Linked DNA regions of Homo sapiens: region 1 is linked to region 2. Evidence: promoter capture Hi-C in 16 types of primary human blood cells and fetal thymus (Javierre and others, 2016). All regions are on one chromosome and are shown on one strand. Each heading gives the region's core, a stretch centred on a gene start or on the middle of the fragment in contact. The rest is flanking DNA. Distances are from core to core; before and after follow the strand shown.

What was found. Contacts are between HindIII fragments. The CHiCAGO score rates a contact against its expected background, and 5 or more counts as called.
Region 1: a contact is called between a fragment that was not itself captured here and the fragment with the promoter of DCUN1D3 in region 2, in 7 of 17 cell types (M1 macrophages, M0 macrophages, monocytes and 4 more). The highest score is 10.9, in M1 macrophages.

What each region holds. Positions count from the first base shown.
Region 1 is chr16:21,297,868-21,304,729 of GRCh38, reverse strand. It overlaps a transcript of CRYM not described here and the pseudogene ABCA15P. Among named protein-coding and RNA genes, the nearest start is that of CRYM, 23 kb to the right of the region's middle. RefSeq lists an enhancer at 1,754-2,342 and a silencer at 2,785-3,044. The HindIII fragment of the contact is 2,136 bases long and covers 1,857-3,992 here.
Region 2 is chr16:20,897,336-20,904,306 of GRCh38, reverse strand. It overlaps DCUN1D3 (defective in cullin neddylation 1 domain containing 3), which reads left to right and starts at 3,949. Exons shown (of 3, transcript NM_173475.4): 1 at 3,949-4,103. It overlaps LYRM1 (LYR motif containing 1), which reads right to left and starts at 3,536. Exons shown (of 4, transcript NM_001128302.3): 1 at 3,418-3,536. RefSeq lists enhancers at 2,559-3,344, 3,345-4,130, 4,340-4,389. The HindIII fragment of the contact is 5,697 bases long and covers 1-4,860 here.

The DNA of each region.
Region 1 (6,862 bases), core at 1,675-4,174, 400 kb before region 2:
GATGTGGTGATGGGGTAAAATCAATTTGTGATTCATACAGCCTTCCAACTTCACAACTATGCCATTCTTAAAGGATTTTTCATGGAAGGGGGCTTCACATCAGGTGCTTACTCCTTAGTGCAGCTGATCAATACACTCAATACATGTCTGCAAACTTTAAAGGAATTTATGCAGCAGATCCAAGTCTTAAAGGCTATTTAAAAAAAAAGCAAACAAACCTAGAAACAAAGTTCATAAAGCAAAACCATAGCAAAACAAAGATTCAGGCAGAAAGATGTTCATGATAACACTGGAAAACAGTAAGATCAAATGAAAACAGAAAGAATGATTACATAAATCATGCCAATACCTTCAATAAAATCCTGTTCCTCTGTTACAAAGAAGGGATAGATATAGATACACTGTCATGAGAGGATAATATACTACTAAGGTAGAAAAAGTAAACTGCAAAATATTATACATGATATAAACACATTGTTTGGAAAAATATATATGTAGAGAAAAGAAGTACATGTACAGAAAAGAAAAATGGTAGAAGATCTGTTGATAGTATGTCCTCAGGAGGTGGAAAATGGGGGACTTACACATTTTACAAATTGTATGTCTATAGAGTTTGAATTTTATGTAATGTACCTGTATTGTTTTTCTAATTAACTCTTCAGGTGGGGGAACAGGTAAACCTGTGAAGAAGGAATCATCTGAAACACTCTCCCACTAACTTTTTTCTCTTGCTCTTTTAGTGGGTAATGTTTTGGAATATTAACCATAAGTTTTCAATTCAGTACCATCCCTCATTCAATCTTTTATTTTTTGGTCTCGGGGAAGACAGAGCAATACTTAATACCTACAAAGACAATGGCCAGTTCTTTCAGTTGACCCTTTCCAGGGTAAAACAACGGATTGGAAATAATGCACAATAAGGAAATGCCGAAGCCCGGCTCCTCAGCATCATCCCATCCCTTTCACTATTCCCAAAATAGATTTGGGGGATCTTATAGCGCAAGAGTCCTGACTCCAAAACAGCCTGGCCAGGAATAAGTACACATCAACATCCTGGTCCTAAATATGAAACACCCCCCACCCTTATCCCTCATAACTTGGATGCAACCCTTGTAAGGGAAAAGGAGGGTTGGAAGGAGCATGAACCTAAAATGCCTGAAAATTATTAGGGCAACCTGCCAAACTGTAGTCGCAAAAGAACAAATAGTTATTGGAAATTAAGCAATTACATGGTTCATAGCCCTGAATTATTAGAATTAAATTTATACTTACTATTTAATTTCAGCTCCTTTTCTAAAAAGCACTGAACTGCTTTAACTGAAACACTGTAATTTTCTTAATTGTACTTAAATATGTTTCTTTTCTTTTAAATTTTCTGCCTACTTTGCATAAAATGAGGTAGCCAAGACCACCTTAAAGTTCTCAGCTTGACTTGAAAAGGCTTTTTCCTGACTCTAGGCCCAAAACTTTCTTTTCTTAGAGCATGATATGGTTTGACTCTGTGTCCACACCCAAATCTCATCTTGTAGCTCCCATAATTCCCACGTGTTATGGGAGGGACCCTGTGAGTGATGACTGAATCATGGGGATGGGTTGTTCCCGTGCTCTTCTCATGATAGTGAGTAAGTCTCATAAGAACTGATGGTTTTCAAATGGGGAGTTTCCCTGCACAAGCTTTCTTGTCTGCCACTATGTGAGATATACCTTTCACCTTCTGCCGTGATTGTGAGGCCTCCTCAGCCACGTGGAACTGTAAGTCCAATAAACCTCTTTCTTTTGTAAATTGCCCAGTCTTGGGTATGTCTTTATCAGCAGTGTGAAAACAGATTAATACAGAGCATTTTCTTTAGAAAGCTTTTCACTGTAAATTCTTTCTCTGTCTTGAGATATCTGTAACTCTTTTTAATAGCCTCTTACTAGTTTTACAAACCAGAATCATCTTTGTCAAGGACCTGGGAGCCATTCCTTTGAAATGCAATCATCAAGGAAGACGGTCCCCCTATCTCCCAGTTTCTGTGGGAGGGTAGGAGCCTAACTTCCCTGAGAGCCAATTAGCAAACACAGCTGGCCTAATCACGGAGGAAACACTTGTAAACTCAGCAAACAACTCAGTATGCTTCCGACAGCCCTCCAGCACCTTTCTACTCTCATCCTAGAGCTTAAAAACCCTGCCCCACTTTGTTTCAGCAGAGTTAGTTTAGACTGAGTTCTGGTCTCTCTTCCCTAGGACAACAGCTTTGCATAAAGTATTCCTTACATATGTGACTTTCTCTGGTGTAATTTATGCTTTCACAAAGGAAAACTAAGACAAATTAAACTACCTATAATCACTGAACTTCCACAGCCCCTTCTGCCATTTATGGAACACTTAACATGTTCTCGCAATGTAAGTATCAGGACTGCCCTCTGAGTTGGATACAATAGCATCCTTTCCTCTTATAGTTATTTTCAGATATAAGCCTTAGGAAATGGAGGCTTAGAGAAACCAAGCAATTTGCCATAGGTCACAGCAAATAAATTCTGGACTAGTCAGGACTAGGGACAAGGCATTTGCCTCCAAAGTCAGTGCGTTCAAGCACTTTGCATAGCCAATATAAAATTCCTAACAGTGCTTCTATTTGATTTGATTGTGTGTATGTGTGTGTGGGTGTGTGTGTGTTGGCGGGGGGATGAGGAAGTCTCTGGAGGATTTATATGCGTGAGTTTTGTTTGGGGGTCGCCCTTTTGGGCTCTGCGCGCCCATCGCGGCTAGCGGGTGGGCCTCCCGGGCGTCGGGGAGCAGCTGCAAGCGCAGGGGGACGCCGGCAGAAGAAGGACGCGCCAGGACTCCCTAGCACGCACCCTCAGGCCTCGCCGCTGCCGCCTCCGCCTCCGCCGCTGAAGGGCGCGCGTCCACCCGGCGGGACTCCTCCTCCCAACGCCCTCCCCAACCACCAGCCGCCCGCGGGCAGGTTGGCAGCCTGGCCCTCGCGCGGACCCGGCCGGGAGCTGGCTGCACTAGGGCTGGGGGCGCGCAGTGCGCGGAGCGGTAGGAGTCAGCGGTGCGGAAGGCAGGAGGTGCGGGTGAAGCTGTCGGCGGTGCTCGAGGGGAGCACGCAAGAACCTCCTCAGTCCCTCTTCCGCACGTGCGCCCACGAGTGTAGTCCCCAGTTTGTTCCACCTATTATCCCGCAGCTCCAGTGCGCCCCACCTGTTGCCTCACCAGCCCAACGTTACTTCTTCCCTGCTTCCTCGCCAGCCCGTCTGGGGGCGGAGACCTCACCCACCGCCCCACCCACCTCGTCTCATGCTCCCACCCACCTCGTCCCATGCGCACACCCATCTCGTCCCTTGCGCTCACCCACCTCGTCCCATGCGCCCTACCCTATGCCCCAAGTCCCTGAAAGGGCCCCACCTAGGTACCCTTTTGGGTCGTCTTCAGGTTCTTTGCCTTGTCGACCCTCCTGGACGACCCCACATTTCTCCGCCTCTCGCGGGCTTCTCTCTCCCTCGTGTGCCATGGTCACCTTCAGCTGGCCCAGCCGCTGATGACAGAAGTTTAAGAAGATTCATGAGCCGCTGCTCCTCAGGGTCTACTGGAGTTTAGCAGATAACTTCCCAAAGGCCCGGGGTCCTGCAAACCCCTCATGCGGGCCACCCAAAAGATTCCGTCCTGGAGCAGACCCCGCGCCACGCGCGCTGTACTCGCGTTCCTTTTTCCAGCCAGCGCAGCCCTGCGGCTTCTGTCCGGGACGGTTCTGCGCGTGGGACGCCCAGCCCGCTTCATCTGCGCCCGCTGCCTTTACCCGCCAGCCACTCCGGCGTTTCCACCTCCGTGTATTTCTCATGCTCCCCACGTTCTATAATGCTTGCTCCTCTTGGCGCGCCCCACCCCAATTCTCGCATCCAGTGTGGCTTCCTGTTTAGAATCGCAGCTTCTGATTGGATCACAGGCCAAATTCACTCTTCCCTGCAATGCCGGATACGACTTGCTCCAGCTCCGAAGTTAAGCTTTGTCAGGAGAGGGCGCAAGAGGAACACTGCAGGACAAGGAGTTCTCTTCCTGGTTGGGGAAAAATCCAGGACTGTATAGAACATCCTCCGCCCCAAACTGGGAAAGGAGCCAACAGACCAAAGAATGACTCAGACCAGTCCAGCTTGATGAGTAGATGAGTTTATTGGGACTCACGTGTAGGGCATTTCTTTTTTTTTTCTTTTTCTGTTTTTTTTTTTTTTTTAAGAGGGAATCTCATGGCACCTCGTTTTCATCATCACTGGATGATTTCTCTGGGTTAGCAAAGGTCAGGAAGACTTGTTCCAGTGTGATCTGACAGAATAGTCTTCTAAATCAAATTGCTCTTTAGCTTGCTCCAAAATGCCAAACACCTTTAACAACAGCAATAAAAACACAGTTACCATTGCAATCTCCCCTTCAGCCCCCAACTCAGATGAGCCTCTCCTCCACTCCCCCACTCCTATCAAGTGTATGTTGGAGGACAAAAGGCACAGAAGGGTGAGGTGAGAAGGCGGAAGAACAGAGAATTGAGAAAGTGAGAGGAGGCCATCTCTTGATGGACATGGACTAATAGTCGGATTTAGGGGAAGAAATCAAGGCAATTAAACTCTAGGGGTGTTTGGAAAGTAACCTAACGCTGCTGCTCCTCCCAACAATGCCAGGCTCCCATTCCAAATGCCCGAATCCCAAATACTCCCCACCATTAGTGCTCTCTTACTTAACATGCAATGTTACAAGGGCAAGATTTCTACCATCACCTTTCCCCAGTCCTTGCTGGGAATGTAGCAGTTAAGGATCCCTTGGTTCTTGTGTTTTAAGACACTACTCAAGAAAGGATAATAGGACCGGTGAATAATCTTACACACTTAATTTGAAATCACCAAAATATTGCTACATTTACTTAACTATATACTTGAAGGGGTGGATAGAGGAGGTTAATACAAAAGGCAATATGACCTGCTAACCCAATCTCTTTGGTATCCATGATATAGTTAATGGTTTCGGCAGATTTATTCCTCATGAACTAGTCTTATTATGTGGAGTTCATAGCAATGATTGAGGGTACAAATATTAGCCAGTTCACCTGCCCAATGTAAAACACCTGAGCCTTCTAAAAGTCTAATGTGGTCAGGTGCAGTGGCTCACGCCTGTAATCCCAGCACTTCGGGAGGCCAAGGCGAGCGGATCACCTGAGGTCAGGAGTTTGGGACCAGCCTGGCCAACATGGCGAAACCCTGTCTCTACTAAAAATAGAAAAATTAGCCGAGCAGTGGTGGTGCACTCCTGTAATGCAAGCTACTCGGGAGGCTGAGACAGGAGAATCGCTTCAACCCAAGAAGCAGAGGTTGCAGTGAGCTGAGATCACGCCACTCAACTCCAACCTGGGTGACAGAGTGAGACTCTGTTTCAAAAAGTAAAAAAAAAATTAAAAAAAAAAACTAAAAGCCTAATGTTGCTACGAGACTTTATTCCTAAACGCAGTGCTGAGAATCTGAACCAGGATGTTTTCCTCCCGGCAGTGTGTGGGCAGGTACAGTGTGTTTGGTGGGGAGGACAACAGGAATAATCACAATAAGAACAAGATTAATAACAATAAGGATTAATCATAATAAGAATAATCATAGTAAGAATAGCCTCACGTGTGAAACAGGAAATCACATATAAATCACCAAAGTCAGGCCACTTGTTCTAGTTTCTTATACAGGTGAGTAATGATCCACTGGTGGAGTAGGAGGAAAGAGGGTGGTGTCTATTCCTAATTTAGAATAAACATTTGTATTTACACTTTTATTGCATATTTGTAGATTATAGCAAATGAAATTAACTGGGATTAAAAATGTTTGAAAAAACACATGTTTGTAACAGTGTGGGATTTTTCTTAATGTTAGTCTTAAAGCATGTATTGCCTTCATGATCACACAAATAAATATGAGATATTTCAAACATCGAGCTTAATGAATTATTTAAAGCAAATACACACAAAACCACCCTATCCAGGTCAAGTAATAATAACCCATACATTCCCATGGGCTATTTCCCAGCTTCTGTCCTCTATAAAAAGTATCCATTGCTTTTATTGTTATTTGAGCAATTCCCTAACAGTTCCCTTTTTATCATTTTATCTACACATGCACCCCTAAAATTGTGATTTCAATTTTTCTACTTCTGAACTTTATATGAATGGAATCATCCAGTATTCATTCCTTTCTTTCTGCTTCACTCAATATTATGTTTGGAAACTTCACTCATGTTGCATGTAATTATAATTCATCATTTTCCTTTCTGCACAGTAATCTGGTATATGAATGTTGTATATTTCCCATTTGTTTACTAATAGAGACATGCGGGTTGTTTTTAGTGTTTGACTTTTGTGAATATAACTTATTTGAATATTATTTTACGTATCTCTTGGGAGAAGTGGATGCAAGTATCTCGGGTATATACCTAAAGGTAGAATTTTTGGGTCATTGCTTTTTGTAAAATTGGTTAAGCCAACTTTAGCTTTCCCTTGGAGGTACACAGAACTGGTGAATATCCCTTTCACTCTTCACATAAGGAAAGGCTGGACAAACTGCAAATTAATAGCTTTTATTTAACCTATCAGTTCTCTGATTGGGCAAATACTGGACAAACACCTAACTCAGCATCATGGGAGAGACAGGTGCCTGCAGGGAGCAACAGGACAAGCATCTACTTATACAAGGCAGACACTGAAAATGATATATCAATTGGTAAGAAGATTTAAACATTTTTTAATGCATTGCTAAAGGCCAAGTATTGGTCTAGCATGAGAACATAAAGATCATTCTTTTATTTTTAACCTCTGTGATACAGTTTGCTTTAGTTGTGTTTCTTACATACCGCAGA
Region 2 (6,971 bases), core at 2,700-5,199:
ACCAGCACCGGAGCGCACACAAGATTATATTTGTACAGGGGAACTCCAATCAGGCTACTGTAACCAAGATAACAACCAATAGATATACAGCTATTTTTCCCATCAGGGATAGAAGTTCTAAATGAAAAGTTATGGGCCCCTCAATTCAAAAGAAATGGAAGTATGTTTCCTTATTAGCATATTTTAACAGGCAAAGAAAAGGTACGGGTCAGTCAGAGGTGGTGAAAAAGCAGTCACCAGTTACTAGTAGTAGAAGGCAGTGGAAGAGATGTGGTGGGGGGGCTGGAATTGAAGGCCAATGCTAAAGATCATTCATTCATTCATTCATTCATTCATTCATAACTCCCCAGCCAGGATCTTTCACCCTTCATATCAAATCGAAAAGTCTGAGAACACAAGACACTGACTTAAGTTCTTGCTTTGTTATAGTTTTCTGAGGAACTGGATTAGGAAACTGACCAAAGAGCTTTGCATGCCACACTAGATACAGTTGGGGCTTTCTAGCACCTGACCCTTGATCCAACTCTCTGATAAATAACCACATTCTGTGCAGGGGTCCAGGCCTTCAGGACAGCTTCCTCCACCATCAAATAACTACTGAATGCGCAACTTTCCCATCTGCAGAGGCACCAGAGCTCCTCAGTAGGCTAAGTCCCTTGAGTTTCACATGCGGAGAATGACTAGCCTACATAGTACCCTCGAGTTCCTCCAGTCCAATGCTGACCAAGATAACTTTCTGTGAAGGAAAGGTTCTATCTGCTCTGTCCAATAGGACACACACCTGTCACAGGTAGCTACTGGCACTTGAAACATACTGTGTTGGAGGAACTGAATTTTTATTTAAATAGTCACATGTGGTCAGTGGCTACACAGGGATAGCACAGCCCTAGACCAAGAATTGCAAATCAAATGCCCACAGGGGTCAGCCAGGTAGCAGGAGAGGAGAGGCCTTTTTGGCAAACCCTGAGCATGAGCCACATAGACGGGAGACAGCTCTTCAGCTCTGGCTGACAGTTGCTGTGTAGGAACCTCTAGGAACTTCAGGCTGGTGTTGTCAGATTGTCGGATTTTTCAAATGAAGCCCAAAGTCTGGATTTTGATGTCCAATTTTTAAATGTTGGCAAGTAAATTTAAAAAAGAATTTAAATCACTGTGTGGGCTGAACAATATGTTTGCAGGCAATATCTGTCTTGTCAGTATGCAACTTCAAATCTAGGCCAACCCTTCAGCTCAGAGAGAAGAGCTTTATCCATGGCCACTCTGCTGGTCAGTGGCAGATCCAGGATTGAAACCCAGGCCTTCTTATTCATCTTCTGATACCCTTTACACTATATTGTGGAACTGATCGTAATTGTGGTGGGCTTGGCAGCAGTGGCAGGGACAAAAGCCCCTTTTTGTGAGAAGCTGTTGGATTGTATGGCTGATACCTTATGAACACAGTGTTCCTGCCCAGCTACAACCACCATATGGACAAGGCTCTGTACCAGGAGCCAGGAAGACACAAATAAGAAACAGTACCTGGGGGAGACAGCCATATAAACAGACAATTTATCCAAAAAGTCAGGTTTTCTATAACGGACACAAATTACCTGAGCACAAGTCCAAAAGCACTGACAGCTGGGAGAGGGAGGGAGGGAAGAGATTTGAGCCAGGACTTAGCTTCTACTTGCTGCGGGTAGAAGCTGGCAAGCGGGTGGATGAGATTCACTGATTACGGGGATGGGTCCCATTATTCCAGGATATTAAGGGGCCTCTTCCTTTGATCTCTGAGGTCTTGTCTGTGTCGTCTCCTTTGCTGGCTTCTCCTTCTCTGGGTACTCTCTAAATGGTAAGAACCCAAGGGATTTAGGGGTCTTCCTCTTTTATTTACACGCTCTTCTTAGGTGATCTGGGAGCTCCTCCCTGCCTTCCTTATTTATTATCTCCAACTATGATTTTTCCCCGACTTGTATATCTAACTTCTTGACAACTTCATTTGACTTGTTAATAGACTTATCAAACTTAATATGTTCAAAAGAGAACTTTCGATATTCCTTTCTAAACTGTTTTCCCGTAGGGAGTTAACCTTGGTTCCTCCCTCTCCTACACACTTCACATCCAATTCCCCAGCAAGTCCTGCAAGCACTACCTCCCAAATATATGCTGAATGGAATTCTCTCCATTTCCACTGTGACTGAGGGCCTTTTCTTTTTTCTTAAGACGGAGTCTCACTCCGTTGCCCAGGCTGGAGTGAAGTGGCGCGATCTTGGCTCACTGCAACCTCCACCTCCCGGGTTCAAGCGATTCTCCTGAGTAGCAGAGATTACAGGCGCGTGCCACTACGCCCAGCTGATTTTTGTATTTTTAGTAGAGATGGGGTTTCACCATGTTGGCCAGGATGATCTCGATCTCCTGACCTCGTGATCCGCCCGCCTAGGCCTCCCAAAGTACTGGGTTTATAGGCGTGAGCCACCGCGCCCGGCCGGCCCTTTCAACACTATCTTCACCTCTCCTTTGTCTTACAGTGCAACAGTCTCCTAACAGGTCTAACTACTTCCACCCTTCTCTATCCAGCAGGCAGAGCGGATTTTTAAAAATGTAAATCAGGTCAGGTCACTTCCCTTCTTAAAACCCTTAAGGTACACATTAGCCAAACCCCTGCCTTGGGCTAAAAGGCGCTGCTACAGTCATGCCACTTCCCCAACTACATCACAGGGCACTCCGGCCCTGGCTCTGTTTGCTTCAGCCACATGGCCTTCTGGCTGTTTCCAACCTAAAAGTCCTTCTCATTGGCTCTTCTCTCCACCCAGAAAACCCATTGTCTCGGATCCCCGCAAAACCGTGGCCTCCTTTGAACGACCTTACCCGATTTCGAGGGGCCCTCCCCCCATCTTCTGTCACCTCATCCGGTCTTTGGGGGGCATTTCTCACTTGCTGATACCTTCTTTATTGATTTACTTAACTCTCTCCTGCACACGAATGGAAGGTAACGGAGCAACACCCTACTCTCAGGTTTGAAGAGCAAGAGAATTACGAAGCTGGCTCTCACGGTCCTAGGGAGTCTCCGTTCCTGTACGGGACCTGGTGTGGGTCAACGTTCCCCAGCCAGACACCTCTCGCCCCCGGACCGGCCCCTACCATCTCCCATTTACATTCGGGGGTCCAAAAGATTCACAGCCTCCGAGGGGGCCCCACGCCGGCACCTGAGCGTCCCCACACCAGGCCTCCCCTCTTGGACGCGCGAGCCACTTCCGTGAGGCAGGTCCCCGAGGCCGGTGGCGATGACACCGAGCCGCCCCCGCGAAGCTGGGGTCACACAGGCCCGTCTCCCGGCAACGCCGCAGCCCAACCTCCAAACCATCCCTGCCCGTGGGGAGCCAACCCCTTCCCCGCCAGTCTCCCGCGCCTGGAGTCGGCGCCTCCATCCCCTACACTCACTCTGCGTCAGTCCTGCCTTCCCCCACCCACAGAAGCGCGCAGCCCGCGGCGGGCTGGGAGGAGGCGGCGCCAGGAGCCCAGCAGAGCCGTGGCCGACCGAGCACAGGCTGGTCCAGTAGGCCAGGCCGGACCAAACCACCGGGCCCACCTCTGTGGGAGCACCAGTTCCAGGTCTGGGGGAGTCTCGACTGACTGACTCTACCCATCTCCCGCCGCATCCAACAATAAGCTGAGCTCCTCCTCCCCCTATTTTTCCTTTACGCTTTCATTATCCTCCCCGCTCCATTCCCGTAAAACAAGAAAAAAAAATGGTCCAGCCCAGCTCCCTCCGGGTTGCTAGGTCTTTGCCCTTACTTGGCGACGGCTTCGTACGTCTTTATGTGCGTCGTGACGCAATCTTCCACTCGTTCCCTCCTTGCCCCTCTCCCATTCTCCCTCCTGGAGCTGGCGGCCGGCGGGGTTACCGGAAGTGATGATGCAGGAGGCGATGGAGGGGGCGGGGCTTCGGGGCGGCCGCCGCCGGTGGGCCGCAGATGAAGAGGAGGCGGTGGCAGTGGTGGAAGAAGAGGCGGCGGCGGCGGGGGTAGGGAGCCTGGAAACGCGAGCGGGGATGGTAGGTGGTTTGGACCCGCCGGGCCGCCGTCGTTTCCAGAAAGGGTTTGACTGGAGGAACCTCTGGAGCAGCTGTGAGTTTTGGGGAGGGGGGGAGTTGAGGAAAAGGCGGGGGGGCATTGAGAGATGAAGGGGCGGGGGTTGGGTACCTTCGAGAAAGGGGGGTGGAAAGGGAGGAGTGGAAGTCAGCGCGTTGTCTGGAGTGGTACCTCTGAAAGAAGAGGCTGTGAGGGGAGCCTGTGGCGTGTCAGCCGCAGGGCTCAGAAAACTTACCTACTGTCCCTGCCTCCCCACCGCCAGCACCCCTCAACCCAGGGCCTGGGGATATGGGGTTGGAGCTGCCCTGGAGGGGGTGCAGACTCTGGTCCTCTGTCCTGGGTGAGCGCTGTGAGGTAGGAGCCCTAGGGGGAGGTGGTGGGTGAATCTCCCAGCTCCCTCCGCCCTCATTTCCCTCCCCACCCCCATCGTTCTCTTTAATCATTAACAGCCCTGGAATTAAGGGGCTCAGACCTGAAGGCCTTTTTGTGCACCTTTGCTATAAACGATAACCATCTGTGTCCGAGGTAATGAGGCTGGAGGCTTTGCCTGTATCCTCTATAGGAAGTGGGACGGGGTGACAAATGTATTGTTTGTTCCTCCACCACACCCCCCGCACTTCTCACCCCTCATCCTCCCCCATGCACACCCCTGGTTTCCACTTTAATTCTCTGTGGCTGAGTGGCAATAGTGGATTTTTTTTTCTTCCCCTTTCCTCCTTTATGGCACTTAGTGCCTTGGTTACCTCTTTTGAATTTGGTGTTCAGCCTCTATCCCAGATCTTAACTGTAAGCTTTGTAATACTTCATACAGGCTGTCACGTTGGGAGTACCTCTTACGCTCCGATTATAATGAGCATTTTCTTTTATGAATACTGGAATTCCAGAGCCTTTGCAAGGAATCCTGAATGGCATCATAGCCCAGGAATCAAGGTCTCTTGCTCGAAATACTTTATGTGTGAGGAATTTACATGTTGTCAGCTCTTCCCAAAATGATTTGCTAGGCTAATTCTGGATTTCTGTGTTTCTCTCCACCCACTTTTCATGATGCACTTCAGAGAACAGAAAACCCCATATTACTTTTTTGTTTCTACAATTGGACAATAGCTCTTTTATGTTTTTCTCCATTTATGTGTGACACACAAATCATCAGTGACACGTTCAGCTTGTGCTGATTTTCATCTTTACGTAGCTGATTCTTTGTGTATGGGGGTCCTAAATGAGACAGTGTGATCTGTTTAGTTTTGGTTTAAGGGCGAATACAAACCAATAACGGATGTGAAAAAATTATTTGAAGCAAAGAATGGAAAGAAGGCCTCTTTGTTGATATGCTGTTGGTTTAAAAAAAATCAAGGAGCACTCTTCTAGCCTCTCAGACAGATATCAGAGTGAAGTGTTATGATTTTCCTTTTGGTGTTGATACATTCTTCGGAAATCTTTTGTAGAATCTGAAACTGTTTTCTGAAGAACTTTAAGAGATAGTGCCTACATTTTCGGAGTCCTTTGATTAGAAAGTGCCCGTAAGTCCTGTCCTTCTGTAACTGAGCTTGATATGCATAGTGCTAGGAAGATCTGATGCTAGGAAGTCCTATTCAGGGCTTTCGGGCCCTAAAAAACAGAATATTTAATGCTTGATTATACCAGTAACAGCGTGTTTAGATGTTTCACAAAAATACAACAGAAGAATGACTACTGTTCTCACTTTAACTGATTTAGAACCTAGTTTGCCATTGACTAAAAAGTTCACAGTTCATTAATTCAACAAACATTTATTGACTCCTAAGTGCTAGCCAGTGTTTCAGGCACTGGGTGTACACAGGTGAACACAAGCAAAAGGTTCACCCTTTCATGGAGCTTACATCGGAGTGGGAGCTGGGGACAGAGAGAGACATAATATATATCCCAGTAAACCAGATTTTGATCAAGCGCTGAAGAAAATAAGAGTGATGTGATTGAAAGTGTCTTAACTGTAGATGCAGTCAAAGAGGATCTTTCTGAGGAAGTGACACTTAAGTTGAGCTTTAAGTATAAAGAAGGAGCCAGCCATCCAAAGAAAAGGGGAAGATCCTTCCAGGTTCAGGGAACAGCTGGTGCAGAAACTGGCTGGAATGCGCTTGTCAAGTTCCAGGGAATGGGAAGAAAGGGTCAGGGTAGGTGGGAGGTAGTGGAAAGAGGATGGGTTGGGTGAGTAATAGCCAGAGCTTAGTGAACACGGGGGAGAGTTGGAGATAAGGTCAGAGAGGTGGATATGGGGCTCAGAATAGGTAGGCAAACAAATTGCCAGAAGGAGTAGGAAGTAGAAAATGATGCTGCTTGTTGATTAATTCTGTCGCCTTAACTAGGGTCTTATCACTTACTGTTTTTGCAGGTACTGTTGGACTATCATAATAAAGTCACTCTGCTGAGTGGGAGAGGAAGAGGCAGTGGTCACCTGGGTCTTTTCTGGCAGATAAATTTCAAGCTGGGTGTTCAGATTTTCAGCAGGATGTTCAATTGAGGACACACCTCTTTCTTTATTTTGTCTTATATACTGCTGTTTAAAACTGCATAATAAGTTCTCTGAATGTGTTCTAGTATACGAATCCTCCTTTGTTTCCAGCTCTGTATGAATTTAAGGACTGGGCAAGTGTTAATAATATGCCCTTATCCATCTACCAAGATGACCATCAGGATCTAAGTTTCAAGTTGTCTTTTGTAGGGAGGCAGTTTATGTTGCAATAGTTCCACTCTTGTCTGATCCTTCTGATGACTAATAACACTCAGCTGAGGTGTAGGTTGGTACTAAAAGTTCACTCAGTGGATTACATTAGATAAATGACCATTGTGGGGCTCAATTCCACTGTGTCGGCATCTTTGGGCTGGCACGTAACCAAGGGATGTAACCTACTTTTGCCTTCTGCTGAGGGC